Regions from separate parts of the Homo sapiens genome. Here region 2 is linked to region 1. Evidence: promoter capture Hi-C in human tissues and cell types (Jung and others, 2019). All regions are on one chromosome and are shown on one strand. Each heading gives the region's core, a stretch centred on a gene start or on the middle of the fragment in contact. The rest is flanking DNA. Distances are from core to core; before and after follow the strand shown. Region 1 holds the start of ARHGAP17 (Rho GTPase activating protein 17). Region 2 overlaps USP31 (ubiquitin specific peptidase 31).

Region 1 (6,268 bases), core at 1,251-3,750:
CTGATTGTCTTCTTGGAGGGATCTAATGGTTGCATCTTTTTCCTGCAGCGATTTTCTTAGCTCTTCAATCTCTTGGAGTAAATTTAGGAGCACTTTTTCTTTAGTTTCTTTATGGTCAGTGTCCATCTGTTTAATATTCTTTTTTTTTTTTTGAGACAGTAACCTTGTCACGTTGTCTCTGTCACCTTGACTGGACCACCCTGTCACCTAGGCTGGACCACCCTGCAGAGGCCAGATCTCAGCTCACTGCAACCTCTGCCTCCAAGGTTCAAGCGATTGTCTCGTCTCAGCTTCCCCAGCAGCTGGGATTACAGGCGCCCGCCACCACGCCTGACTAATTTTTGTATTTTTAGTAGAGACTGGGTTTCACCATGTTGGCCAGGCTGGTCTTGAACTCCTGACCTCAGGTGATCCACCTACCTCGACCTCCCAAAGTGCTGGGATTACAGGTGTGATGCATTGCACCCAGCCTCAATATTCTTTTTGAGTGCTGACATTTCAGAGTCTTTCTCGTGGCTGAGTTTAATTACACACTCTTGCTCTAGCTGTAAGGCAGAGCTCTCCAGGTTAGCTTCAGTGGACAATCTTTTCATGGTTTTCTCAGAGTTGTTTCTTCCAATAGCCTCTTTTCAGCTAGGGGTCTCACTCTGTCACCCAGACAAGAGTGCAATGGTGTGATAATAGCTCACTGCAGCCTCAAATTCCTGGGCTCAAATGATCCTGTTGCCTCAGCCTTTCAACTAGTTGGGAGTACAGGTGCATGCCACTGCTTCTGGCCTTTTTTTTTTTTTTAAATTTTTCATAGAGATGAGGTTTTAGTATGTTGTCCAGGCTAGTCTCATACTCCTGAGCTCAAGTGATCTTCCCATCTTGACCTCCCAAAGTGCTAGGATTACAGGTGTGAGCCACTGCACCTGGCCCCAGAAGATAATTTTTTATTTGTCTTTTACTCTATGTTCAAATTCTTCAATTTTTTGGTAGACTCTACTTTTTCAATTTGTAGAGCTTGCATGAATAGTGTTTTCCTTCTCTTGAAGTTTAGAGAGATCATGTACTGTAATTCCTGAGCCACCTTGCTGTAACAAATTTTCCAGTTCTTCAATCTTTTCTTCCTAATTGCTTAGATTTTCTTGATGCTTACAACTTATTTCCCTCAATTTCTGTTGATGAACATTCTGTAATACTGATAATTCAAGCTGATGGTCATCAGTATCCTGACTTCTTTTTTGTTTGAGCTCCTTGATGATATTAATATTTGGTGTTTGTAGTTTGTAGATTTCATTTTCATCAAAACTAGTTGTTCCTCCTATTTTATAAGTCTGAGCAATACATTTCCAATGGCCAACTGGAGACTCAAGTTTTAGAACTTCATTGGACTATCTGTTTATTTCTTGTTATGATGAAATTATGTCATAAAAACCCATGTAAGCGTCGTGGAACACTGAAGCATGATGGGTACCACATGGAATGGAGGGGATGCAGTGTGGATGGGAACCTCCGGCCTTCCCTGAATGTGCTGACTCCAGGGCTGGCTGCCGGTCCTGCAACCGATCCTGTAGTGCTTGCTTTCTTGTTTTAGGAAGGCTCATTTCTACCTCTTTCTGTTGTAATTGATGTCGATAACTTTTAGTTTGCTGCCCTATCTGAAGCTCTGATGCTTCCTAGGTCTCTCCTAGGTCACTAAAAAGATCTTGAAGTCCCTCATTCTTTGATATTAAGAATTCCAAACTGGCATCAGTCTCCTTTATCCCATAGTTAGGGAGCTCTTTCCTTTTTCTATGACATTTAGGAGCACATTTGAGATGTGGCTGATGAAAGAAGCCACATTGCTGCCCATCCAATGCAAAGAAGGGGCTTACCTGGAGCCAAGGCCACCAAACCAGGAAGACATGAGTGTGTGAGCACGTGTGTTAAGGAAAACACACATTGACTTTAATTTTTTTTTTTTTTTTTTTTTTCGAGACAGGGTCTCTCACTCTGTTGCCCAGGCTGGAGTGCAGTGGCGCCATCTCGGCTCACTGCAACCTCTGCCTTTCGGGTAAAAGCCGTTCTCCTGCTTCAGCCTCCTGAGTAGCTGGGATTACAGGCGTCCACCACCACGCCCAGCTAAATTTGTATTGTTAGTAGAGACAGGATTTCACCGTGTTGGCCAGGCTGCTCTCGAACTCCCGAGCTCAAGTGATCTGCCCCCTCGGCCTCCCAAAGTGCTGAGATTACAACGTTGAACCACTGCGCCCTGCTAGAAACAGCTTTTCATACGTTGAAATAAACGAGAGGGTGACCGGGCAGCGTTGGGGTCGGGGAGGCCAGGCGGAGGAGGCCTAGTGGTCTTCTCGCCCGGGGCCTTCTAGCTCTTCGCCCGTGTCAGGTAAGGCACTGTTAGCCTCGGCTCGGTTCGACTCGGCTCTACTCGGGCTCAGCTCGGCTCGGCCAGACCTAGAGGGCGGGCGGGCGGTGCCACTGGAAGTGACGAGGCGAGGGCGGGGCCGCCGGCCCGGGGAGCCACCGCCGCGCCGCCGTTTGGGCCGGGAAGCGATGTAGTAGCTGCCAGGCTGTCCCCCGCCCTGCCCGGCCCGAGCCCCGCGGGCCGCCGCCGCCACCGCCGCCATGAAGAAGCAGTTCAACCGCATGAAGCAGCTGGCTAACCAGACCGTGGGCAGGCGAGTGCGCCGGGCAGCACGGGGGTCGCACCGGGGCTGGGGGCGGAGGGCGGAGGGCGCGGGGGCGGGACGGCTCCTCCGCGGTCCGGCGGCTCTGAGCTGGGCCGCAGCCCCTGCCCGAGACCAGCGGGGCACGGGCCCGGGGGCTGCGCCGCGCTGAGGCCCGAGCGCCGCGCTCCAGGCGGCCCGCCTGTCTCTCAGCGCCGCCGGGCTCCCGAGACCTGCAGGGGAGGGCCGCCGCCTCCTCCGCCACACCGCGGGGTCCCCTGCCCATTGTCCCTGCCCCGGGAGCATCGCCCTCGGGGAGTAGACCCGGTCCTTCTCCTCCCTTCCCGGGGGCCGAGCCAGCTGGGATCGCTGCCCTGGGCTCAACAACGGTGACTTCTGTCCCTAACGCTGTGCCGAGCGCTGTGCTGTGGGGGGCGGCAGTCCCAGGCTTTCCCGGTGCTCCCGCTGTTTGCGAGTCCTTCTCCTGTAAGTGCATGGCGGCAAGAAATGGCTAGAGGGACATGAAAGCCAGCCGGATTTGCTCAGTGAGTTCAGAACGCCCTTTGAGGGAATTCGGAGGTGGTGCTGTCTCAAAACCAGGGCTCCTAGGAACTGGACTGCTGCTGCCAGTTCTTGACATTTAGAAATTAGGAATTGGCGGAAAAGGATTATGGAGACGCCTTGCGCCAATTTAAAAAGTCTCACCTTAGGTTTGGAAACAAATGCTTCTTTATCTTCCTTTGCTACGGTTGAAGTGCTTAACAAGAAACGTTATTGATTATTAAATGGCAGGCTAGACCAGAGTTGGTAGATCAGGTTGTCAGAACAAGAAATGATTTGTGGTTTTTGAGAGTTTCTGGAGGTGACTGTCATGTGCTGTATTATCTGGGGCTAATATTTCAAGGTCTTTCAGGGCAGCTGGCTGTACTGTACCGATTTAGTGTTTATTCAGCAAAGAGATACGAAAGTATGAATTTCTCACAGCTCTTCTTTTGATTTTCTGTTTTTAACAGTTAAGGGGAGTTTGGTTTGGCTGAAGCACGTGGGACACTTCTTTTTTTTGAGTGTATGAAAATACTTTTACTTCCTCTCGAGTTTTCTAAATTTGCTTTTTACTGTTTCATTTCCTCCATCTTTTTGCTTAGTTTCCTTGTTTAATTTTTTCGATTCCCTACCGTATTATTGTGGTGAGAATTAACTCTTATTTTCAGGGTTAATCGCTGCCCCTAAAGCCCAGACAAACCTACTTTTCTGTTATTTGCAGGAAAATTAAAGAAATAATGCTGAGAGGAAGGTAGACGTGTGGTAATGGCGGCTGATGTTTCAAGGAACAGTTTACAAGCACATGATAATTTCTTGTGAGTTTCGTACCCTTGTTAGTGTTCTGAGCAACGTGCATTGTGGAACTAGTATTTAGTAAGTGCCAAGATACATTTGTCAAATAGTCGTTTGGCTTGTTTTTACATTGTTCGTGACAGGTAAGGGACTTTCACTCTTTTTATACAAAGTTCTGAGACTTAAATCTACCAAGCTATTTAGGGTCTCTTTGACTCCTGGGTCATCTTAGAGGCTTCTCCCTTCACACTTTTTTTTTTTTTTGAGACAGGGTCTCCCTTTGTCACCCAAGCTGGGGTGCAGTGGTGCGATCTTGTCTCATTGCAGCCTTGACTTCCCTGGGCTCAAGCGACCCTCTCGCCTCAGCCACCTATGTGGTTGGAACTACAGGTGGGCACCACCACATCCGCTAATTTTTGTATTTTTTGTAGAGTGGGGATTTGCCATGTTGCCTAGGGTGGTCTCGAACTCCTGGCCTCAACTGATCTGCCTGCCTTGGCCTCCCAAAGTTCTGGGACTACAAGCGTGAGCCACCTTGCCTGGCACCTTCACATTTTAAAATTCCGGCCATGCTTGCCTACCTTCAGTTTCCACAGGAGGTCTTGCTTTCTTACCTGCTAGCATCTACTTGGAACTCCTGGAAGCCTCTCCCACCACACCTTTTCTCCAGGCACCTCTTGCTCATTCTTCAGCCTTCTGGGAAAGGTCCCTCTGCCTCTGAAAGGCCTTCTATGATGCTACAGCATAGATTGGATGCCTCTCCTGGGCGTTCTTGTAATCCTGTGTAGCACTTGCTTTTCTGTGCTGTGACTGCCTCTTGTGTGTGTTCTCCATCAGATAAATACCTTGAGAGTCCTTGCTGTGTCTCCTTTGATTCCCAGGGTCTGCTGTGGTTCCTACCCCATGGCCAGGGTGCAGTAGACATTGTTAATTCTGGTATTTGAGTTCTTACTAGATCGCCTTGGTGGTGTGGGCCCGAGTATGGGAAAACATGAAGTGGATAGAGTAGATGGTGATTCATGCTGGAGCTGTAATTCTGGGCCTGACCTTTGACTGTCTTTAAAAATCTTTATTGCTAGATGCCAGTGGAAGCTGAAGCTATTACAGAACTATTAAGGGTGTGGCAATTATGCACCCAAAGTCAGAACATCTGTTTTTAACTGGGAAACCTGTTGCTTCCTTGCTGTTGATTTCCTAGATGTGTGTGTGTATGTGTTTTCTGCTTAAGTAATCAGAAAGGACTAAGGAAGATAAACGGAGGCTGGAGAGTGCCTAGAATTGTTACTGCTTGGAAGTAGGTGGTTGGTTGGCCCCAGAATCAGGATTCTGGGTGTTTTTAGGTCAAGATGAAGGCTACAAAGCAAAGGGTTTTTTTGTTTTCGCCCCTGCGATCTAGGTGGAGAAGGAAGTTATATATGTGAATGTCATGCCCATCGTGTTTTGGTTTATCAATTTGTGGAATTCTAGGTGGTGTCTTGCAGTGAGATATTCTCCTCAGAAGGGAGACCTTTGAGTACTTTCACTGTAAGGTTCCAGGGGAGGGACTTGTAGAGAATTAGTAATGCCTGGAAGGAATGAGTTCGCATGATGCAGTTTGTTTACGATGGGTGGGTAAGTCTATTTGAGAAGACGGCCTGAAACTCACAGGGGCAAGGCTTATGAGGTGGTCTCATGGTGTGAGTGTCCCAAAGAAGAGAAGTAGGATGGTTCTTTTAGTCCACCTGCCTTTTGTTGATTCATGCATTCAACAGACACTTGTTGAGCCTACACTGTGTCCTGTTATCCAGGGTATTAAAGAATCAAAGGTGAATACGGGCATGGTTTCTGCCCTGAGGGAGCTCAGGAGATACGTGGAAGAGGTAGGCAGGCAAAAAATAATTATATACATGAGATAAGTGCTTAAGAGGGATGGCTAATGCACAGAGCAAAACCCAGCTGTCATTGGATTGAGGGAGGTAACAAAAGCTTCCCAGAGGAGAAAATCTGAGCACCTTTCTCTGCCTTCATTTTCAAGCCCTTATTTCAAATATCTCTTGTATTGATTAGGTCTCTTTTGGTTGTAAGAAAACCCAGTTCATAGCAAAGACGGGAATTGATTGGCTCATAAGTGACCAAAAGAGCCTCTAATAAGTAGTGTGGCTGCAGATTTGGCTTCTTCTGGGGGTTCCACTCTTTTTTTTTTTTTTTGAGACGGAGTCTGGCTCTGTCACCCAGGTTGGAGTGTAGTGGCGCGGCTCACTGCAGCCTCCACCTCCTAGGTTCAAGCAATTCTCCCGTCTCAGCCT
Region 2 (6,268 bases), core at 1,835-4,334, 1.9 Mb after region 1:
CCTCAGCAGGCTTCTGCTGATATTTCATTGGCTATAACCATGTCAATTGGCTGTCACGGAGGCTGGAGGGTGGGCATTTGGGTTTTCCTGTCTTCACAGAGGAGATGAGTAAAGGAGGGGTTTACCTCCCAGGGAGCTATGAAGAGCTGAGTCGAGTAGGATCTAGGAAGTTCCCTGAGACAGCGCTTCTCATGCGTCAGTGTGCACATAATTCACCTGGGGATCTTGCTACAAAGGAAATTGAGATTCGGTAGAGCTGGAGCGGTGCCCAAGATTCTGCATTTCTAACAAGCTCCCTGGTGATGCCAGTGCTTTTGGCTCAAGGACCATCCTGTGTATAGCAGGCATCAAGGAACAAGGAAAGCATTACCAAAAAGGTGGCTCCTGAGCAGTGTTCTGAAAGATGAATAGAAATTTGCAGGGCAAGGAAGTGGTGGAGTTGCATGAAAGGGCGTGTGGTTTTGGGGAATAGACATTTAGTGGCTGGCTGCACCATAGAGAGCAGTGGGGGTGCAGGAAGCCTGGGAGAAGAGTGTTGGAAACTCACTGTGAAGGGCTTCGTGAGCTATGCTGGTTTGGATTTCATCCTCTGCAAGTTGAAAATCCAGAGGTGATTTTTAAGCAAGGAAGTGATATAATTAGATTCTTTTCCCCTTTTTATTCCCCCGGTTAGGTAACTCTGGCAAATTGATTACTTTTTAAAAAAAGGTTTTATTTTAGCTAAATTTGATGGGTATTATTTTGAATATAAAGAAAGTTGAATGCTAAGGCAGGACGCAGTGGCTCATGTCTGTAATCCCGGCACTTTGGGAGGCCAAGGTGGGTGGATCACTTGAGACCAATAGTTCCAGACCAGCCTGGACAACATGGTGAAACCCCATCTCTACTAAAAAAATACAAAAAGTAGCCGAGCGTGGTGGCACACACCTGTAATCCCAGCTACTCGGGAGGCTGAGGCACGAGAATCTCTTGAACCCAGGAGGTGGAGGTTGCAGTGAGCAGAGATCATGTCACTGCGCTCCAGCCTGGGTGACAGAGTGAGACTCTGCCTCAAAAAAAGGAAAAAAAAAAAAGAAAGGTAAACACCAGAAGGTGGACCTGAGGCATACCTCACTGTGCTTCGCCTGCTTGGGGTGGACATCGTTATTTCATTCAGATATTCTTCACTTTCACATCGCTCACATTCAGCCTTAGAATCCTGCTCAGTTCTAGAAGGGCTCCAGGCAGCCACCACCACCTAGTTGAAGTTGGCAGAGGAGATAAAACCAATTTGCCATCTTGAGATAGTTACCTTGAGGTTAGAAAAGCACTTACTATGTCTTTGTGCTTTTATTATCTTAAAACTTTAAGTTACTAATGCTTTTCTTTGTAAGTTTTTCAATTAGAGTTCTTTCTTCCTTTTTAACCACATTGATTTGAGTTTTAGGAGCTTGCCAAGTAGATGGTTTTTGGTTTTGGATGGGCTAGATGGTTGTTAAAGTTGGGTTTTCATTTCCCAGGATGAAATGAGTTGACTAGCTCAACCTTGATATGCTGTAAAAAATGTCTCTAGCCATTACCTTTATCCTTTCTCTTTTCACACAGATTTTTTGTTTGTTTGTTTCCTACTCTTAGAGCACTGGTTTTCAACACGGGCACTTTTGCCTGTCCTCACCCCACCCTGCCCCCACCCCCTGGGACATTTGTCGATGTCTGGAACCCTACTTGGTTGTCACAGCTGGGATCAGGGTGCTACTGGCATGTGGTGGTAGATTCCAGGGATGCTGCTAAATGTCACACAATGTGCAGGACAGCCCCCCTTACTAAAGGGTTTTCACCCCAAAGTGTCAGTAGTGCTGAGGCTGAGAAACTGTTTGGAGGAAAGTTTGGAGACTCAGCGCAAGTTTCCTTTTACTTCCCCAGCCTTTAAAATGGTTACCTTGTTATCTCTCGCGCTCTCTCTTTCTCTCTCTCTCCCCCCCCCCAACCTCTCCCTCTCTCTTTCTCCTTCTCTGTCTCTGAGTGTGTATATGTGTTTGCAGCAGCACTAGGGTAAAACTTGGGCTTCACTGGCAGGACCCTTGCATCACTTTCCTAGTAAAATAGTGAGAGTAAATAAATCACTTTGAATACATAATATGCCATTTTAAAGGGAATCAGCTTATTGCTTTCATAGGAGCATGGGTGCCCCAGATTCTTACAAATGCTTTCTGAGTTTTAGAGCTCAGAGCCGTTTTGCAGCAAGTAAAAAGATGGATGGTCATCTTTCAAGCAAGAAAGATAAATTTTATGGCAGCAGTTTTTAAATTGTGCTGGCAAAGAACAGCTAGCACAGAGTGATCTATTGATAAAAGAATTGTGGGGACTCCTTCCAGATTTGCAGTGAAACAAATGGTAATTGATGAATAGAATTCTCTCTCCCATTTTTTTTTCCTTGAACTTTGGTGCCTTGTGGTGCTTATTTATTAGTGAGAATTCTCAAGTCACAAAAGGAATAAACTTGTATAAGAGACTAGTGGTGAACAACCTGGCAATCAGAGGCTCACACTTGCTGAGTTTCCCAGCCTGCTTTTCCATGCACTCATGCTGGGGGTTCTGGTGCTATGCTGCAAACCCATGGTACACAGTTTTTTTCTTGTTAGTGTCAAGCTCTTTAGTATACTGATACTTCAGTGTTTTCCACAAAGCACACTGACTTCAGGGTGTCCCTTGGAAAAAATGAAATTGTGTAGGTCACATTTAGCTTTGTGACAGAGTATAAAATAAAAAGTACATCCCTTCCTGGTCAGTTCTCTGGTCCATCAAATGCCATCACTTGAGTTTTAGCAAAGCTCCACACCTCTGAGGGAGAAAGTTGATAGAATCATGAAGTTTTAGACTTGGAAGCAGACTTGGATGTGGTGTGAGTAGTTCCTAGCCTTTCAGGATGTGGGAACTGAGTTCACCCACTAGCTAGAGGTTGAGGGAGCAGAACCAGAATTCTGACTTCCACTGACTGTGAACTCTGTGTACCCCTGCACTGCTGGTGCACAAACTGGGTCCTGGGCCTGGGTGGCCTTATCAGTACAAGCAATGAAACGACAGGTCTCAACATAACACGTACATGGGCAGAGGGGACGTGCTGAAACGTGTAACATTTTTTCCTCTGAGACTGTGGTGCTGAATTGGAGTGAAAATAAGGTCATCTGCAGCTAGCTTCACGTTTGTGCCATTGCTCCTCAGGCTTAGGTGTTTTTGGAAGTCTTTCTTAAAACACATTCCTTTCAGACTGTTTCAACACGTATATCAACACATGTGGATCTCTCTCCAGTAAGCTTTGAGCTGATGTTTACCACATCTTACCAAGTTTGGTAAAAGTGAAGTGTAAGAATTACAATAAATTTTCCATGAGGACTAATTGAGGAATAAAAATACATGGGATAATTATGAACTCCATATTTTGGACCTGAATCACATTTGCTGCACAGTTATTGTTAGTTTAGGTAAAGGGGCTGGGAATACAGGATTAAGTACAAAGGTTATAGGACTAGGTTCATGCCGTCAGAGAACTTAGCTGCTTATAGAGAAGCTGTTTTAAGTTGTACTGATGAGGAAAGTTCACTGGGAGCTGAGAGAGAGGTGAGATCATTGTGTATGAAAGTGTAAGTAGAAAGATTTCATTTATTCATCCTTTTATTTGTTGTCAGCAATTAAGCATCTACAAATTTGATTTTCTAACTCCATGCCACATATTGTACAAGTCATTTGTATATAGTGGAAAACAAAGTGATATGATAATGGTAAAAAAATTGTAAAAGGCCATGTGGTCCCTTCCTTTACGGAACTTTTATTGCCACAGAGGAGGCAGATATTATTCAATAAACACTGGTAAATATGAAATTAAAAATTACAGTAGGCCAGACATGGTGGCATGTGCCTGTAATCCCAGCACTTTGGGAGGCCGTGGTAGACAGATAGCTTGAGCTCAGGAGTTCAAGACCAGCCTGGGCAACAGGCGAAACCCTGTCTCTCCAAAAAGTACAAAAATTAGCCGGGCGTGGTGGCACACACCTGTGGTTCCAGCTACTTCGGAGGCTGAGGTGGGAAGATCACCTGAGCCAAGAGGTCAAGGTGTGGTGAGCCGAGATTGTGCCACTGCCCTCTGGCCTGGGCTACAGAGTGAGACCCTGTGTCCAAAAAAAAAAAAAAATTATTGTATAAATGCTAAAGAGAAATAGATAGGTGTATGAGAGGGAATAATGGGTGTGACCAGGCAGGAAGAATAAAATGCAGAAGGCGCTATAGTTGGAAAGAGCTGAGGGTACACTTGAAAGTCTGACAGATCTTGTTTGCAGCTAGAGAGCCAGGAGGAGAGCGGGATGGAGGAGGTGGAGAGGCAGGGGCCAGGTAGGCAGAGGCCGAGTCTGCCTTGTGTAGCTATAGTGCCTTACAGACCAAGGTAAGGGGTTTAGATTTTATTCCAAGAGTCATGGGGGCTGTTATAGGCTTTAAACAGAGTCCTGGTATGATCTTGTGAAAATGTGAAGTGGTTATTCTGGGCACTGAATAGTGAGTAGAATGGAGGCAGAGACCAGTCAGGAGGCTTTTGTGATGGACTGGGTAAAAGGGATGGTGGAGGGAGGTGGAGAAGTGGATGGATTTAAGATGTGTCTGGAGGTAGACTCTTGACAGAACTTGCTAATGGATTGATTTGTGGCAAGACACTGGAGCAGAGAACGTTGAGGAGAGCATCCAGAATAACTCCCACCTGTTTTCCTGAGCAACTGGGTGATTGCTGGGGCTGTATACCTATTTGAGGAGAAGGAGTTTTGGGGGAGTCAGGAATTCAGGTTCAGATATGTTAAATAGTACACTCAGGAGATGTCTAGTAGGCAGCTGGGTAAGGAACTCAGAAGATAAGATAAACATTTTGGAGGCGTCACCACTGGATGGTATTTAAAGCCATGGGCTATAGACTTAGAATGGGATTTGAAGATAAATAAAACATTGATAGTTAAGGGGAAGAGAGACGACATTCTAAGTTGCTAGGGAAATATTCTGAGCAGAGGTATAGATATAGCATGGTCTGGGGACAGAGAGCCTTGATTTGGAGCAGATTCTCGGCCTTGGCACTCTTGCTATTTTGGGCTGGCTAATTCTTTGTTGTTGGGGGCTGTCCTGGCACTGTAGGATGTTTAGCAGAATCCCTGGCCTTCACCCACTAGATGTGGTTGTACTCCCCCCTACTCCAAGTCATGACAATTAAAAATGTCTCCAGATACTGCCAAATGTCCCTCGGCAGCAAAATTGAGAACCACTGATTTGGAATGAAGGGGAGATAAATTTAGATAACTGGGGAGAGGAGAGGGGGCACATTATGGATGGCTTTGAGAGTCTGTCACAACAGTTTAGCCTTGAGGCTGCAATCAGTAGTGATTCAATTGAGCCTTCTTGAGTTGTGCAGAGAGATTGATTTGATGAAAACGATTTTAGAAAAATGGGTCTGATGGTGAGTGAAAATGAATCAAATGGAGGAGAAAATAAATACAGCGAGAAAACAATCACAGGAATGAAGTGAGGAAAAGGAGGAGGAAAGGTGAATCCAAGTGACATTTTGGAGGACATTGGACATTATTAAGAAAACTACAAGAGGCGTAGTGGTAAAGGGAATACTGAGGTTTCAGGCCAAGGTGATAAAGAAATAATAGGGATATTTGATATAAATTTAATAGCTGATAGAAATTGAGCACTTAGAAAGGGAAGTGGTTTGTGGAGCATGAGGAGCAGAAAGATTGTGCATTTAATTTGAATATATGGGGTTGGGAGCCATAGGATATGACCTTCCCACTTAAGAGAGGAAGCCTTAATAGACAGTTGGAAATCAGGTGCAATTTAGGACTAGCTGTATAGACTTGGATTCAGCTGCATAGAGGTGATAATTGAAGCCAGGAGCATATTTAGAAGGTCTGAGGCCCATGACTAAGCCTTTGAGGGAAACTAAAAATGAGAGGACAGGAGGAGAGAGAGGACCTCTTAAGGGGCAGTCAGAGAGGTAGCAGGAAAACCAGGAAGGCAGAGTCATGACACCTGGTTTGCTTTACAGTTTGACTACCTGCTCTTAGCGCTGAATACAGCGTAGAGCTGCAGAAATATCAGTTTATTTTACTTTATTTTTTATTTCGAGACAGAGTCTTGCTCTGTTGCCCAGGCTGCAGTGCAGTGGTGTGATTAGCGTGATCTCGGCTCACTGCAATCTCTGCCTCCTAGGTTCAAGTGATTCTCCTGCCTCAGCCTCCTGAGTAGCTGGGAT

Evidence for each region. Contacts are between HindIII fragments. The study calls those that stand out against the background at their distance.
Region 2: a fragment that was not itself captured here is called in contact with the fragment with the promoter of ARHGAP17 in region 1 in 1 of the 25 tissues and cell types used here (dorsolateral prefrontal cortex).

What each region holds. Positions count from the first base shown.
Region 1 is chr16:25,011,601-25,017,868 of GRCh38, reverse strand. It overlaps ARHGAP17 (Rho GTPase activating protein 17), which reads left to right and starts at 2,500. Exons shown (of 20, transcript NM_001006634.3): 1 at 2,500-2,660. The coding sequence starts at 2,608. It also overlaps the pseudogene LOC100421171. RefSeq lists silencers at 2,362-2,611, 2,692-2,741, 2,802-2,851, 2,912-2,961 and enhancers at 2,275-2,943, 2,944-3,612. The HindIII fragment of the contact is 28,450 bases long and covers 1-6,268 here.
Region 2 is chr16:23,139,282-23,145,549 of GRCh38, reverse strand. The region is part of intron 1 of USP31 (ubiquitin specific peptidase 31); the gene reads left to right. Among named protein-coding and RNA genes, the nearest start is that of USP31, 7.0 kb to the left of the region's middle. The HindIII fragment of the contact is 4,155 bases long and covers 1,007-5,161 here.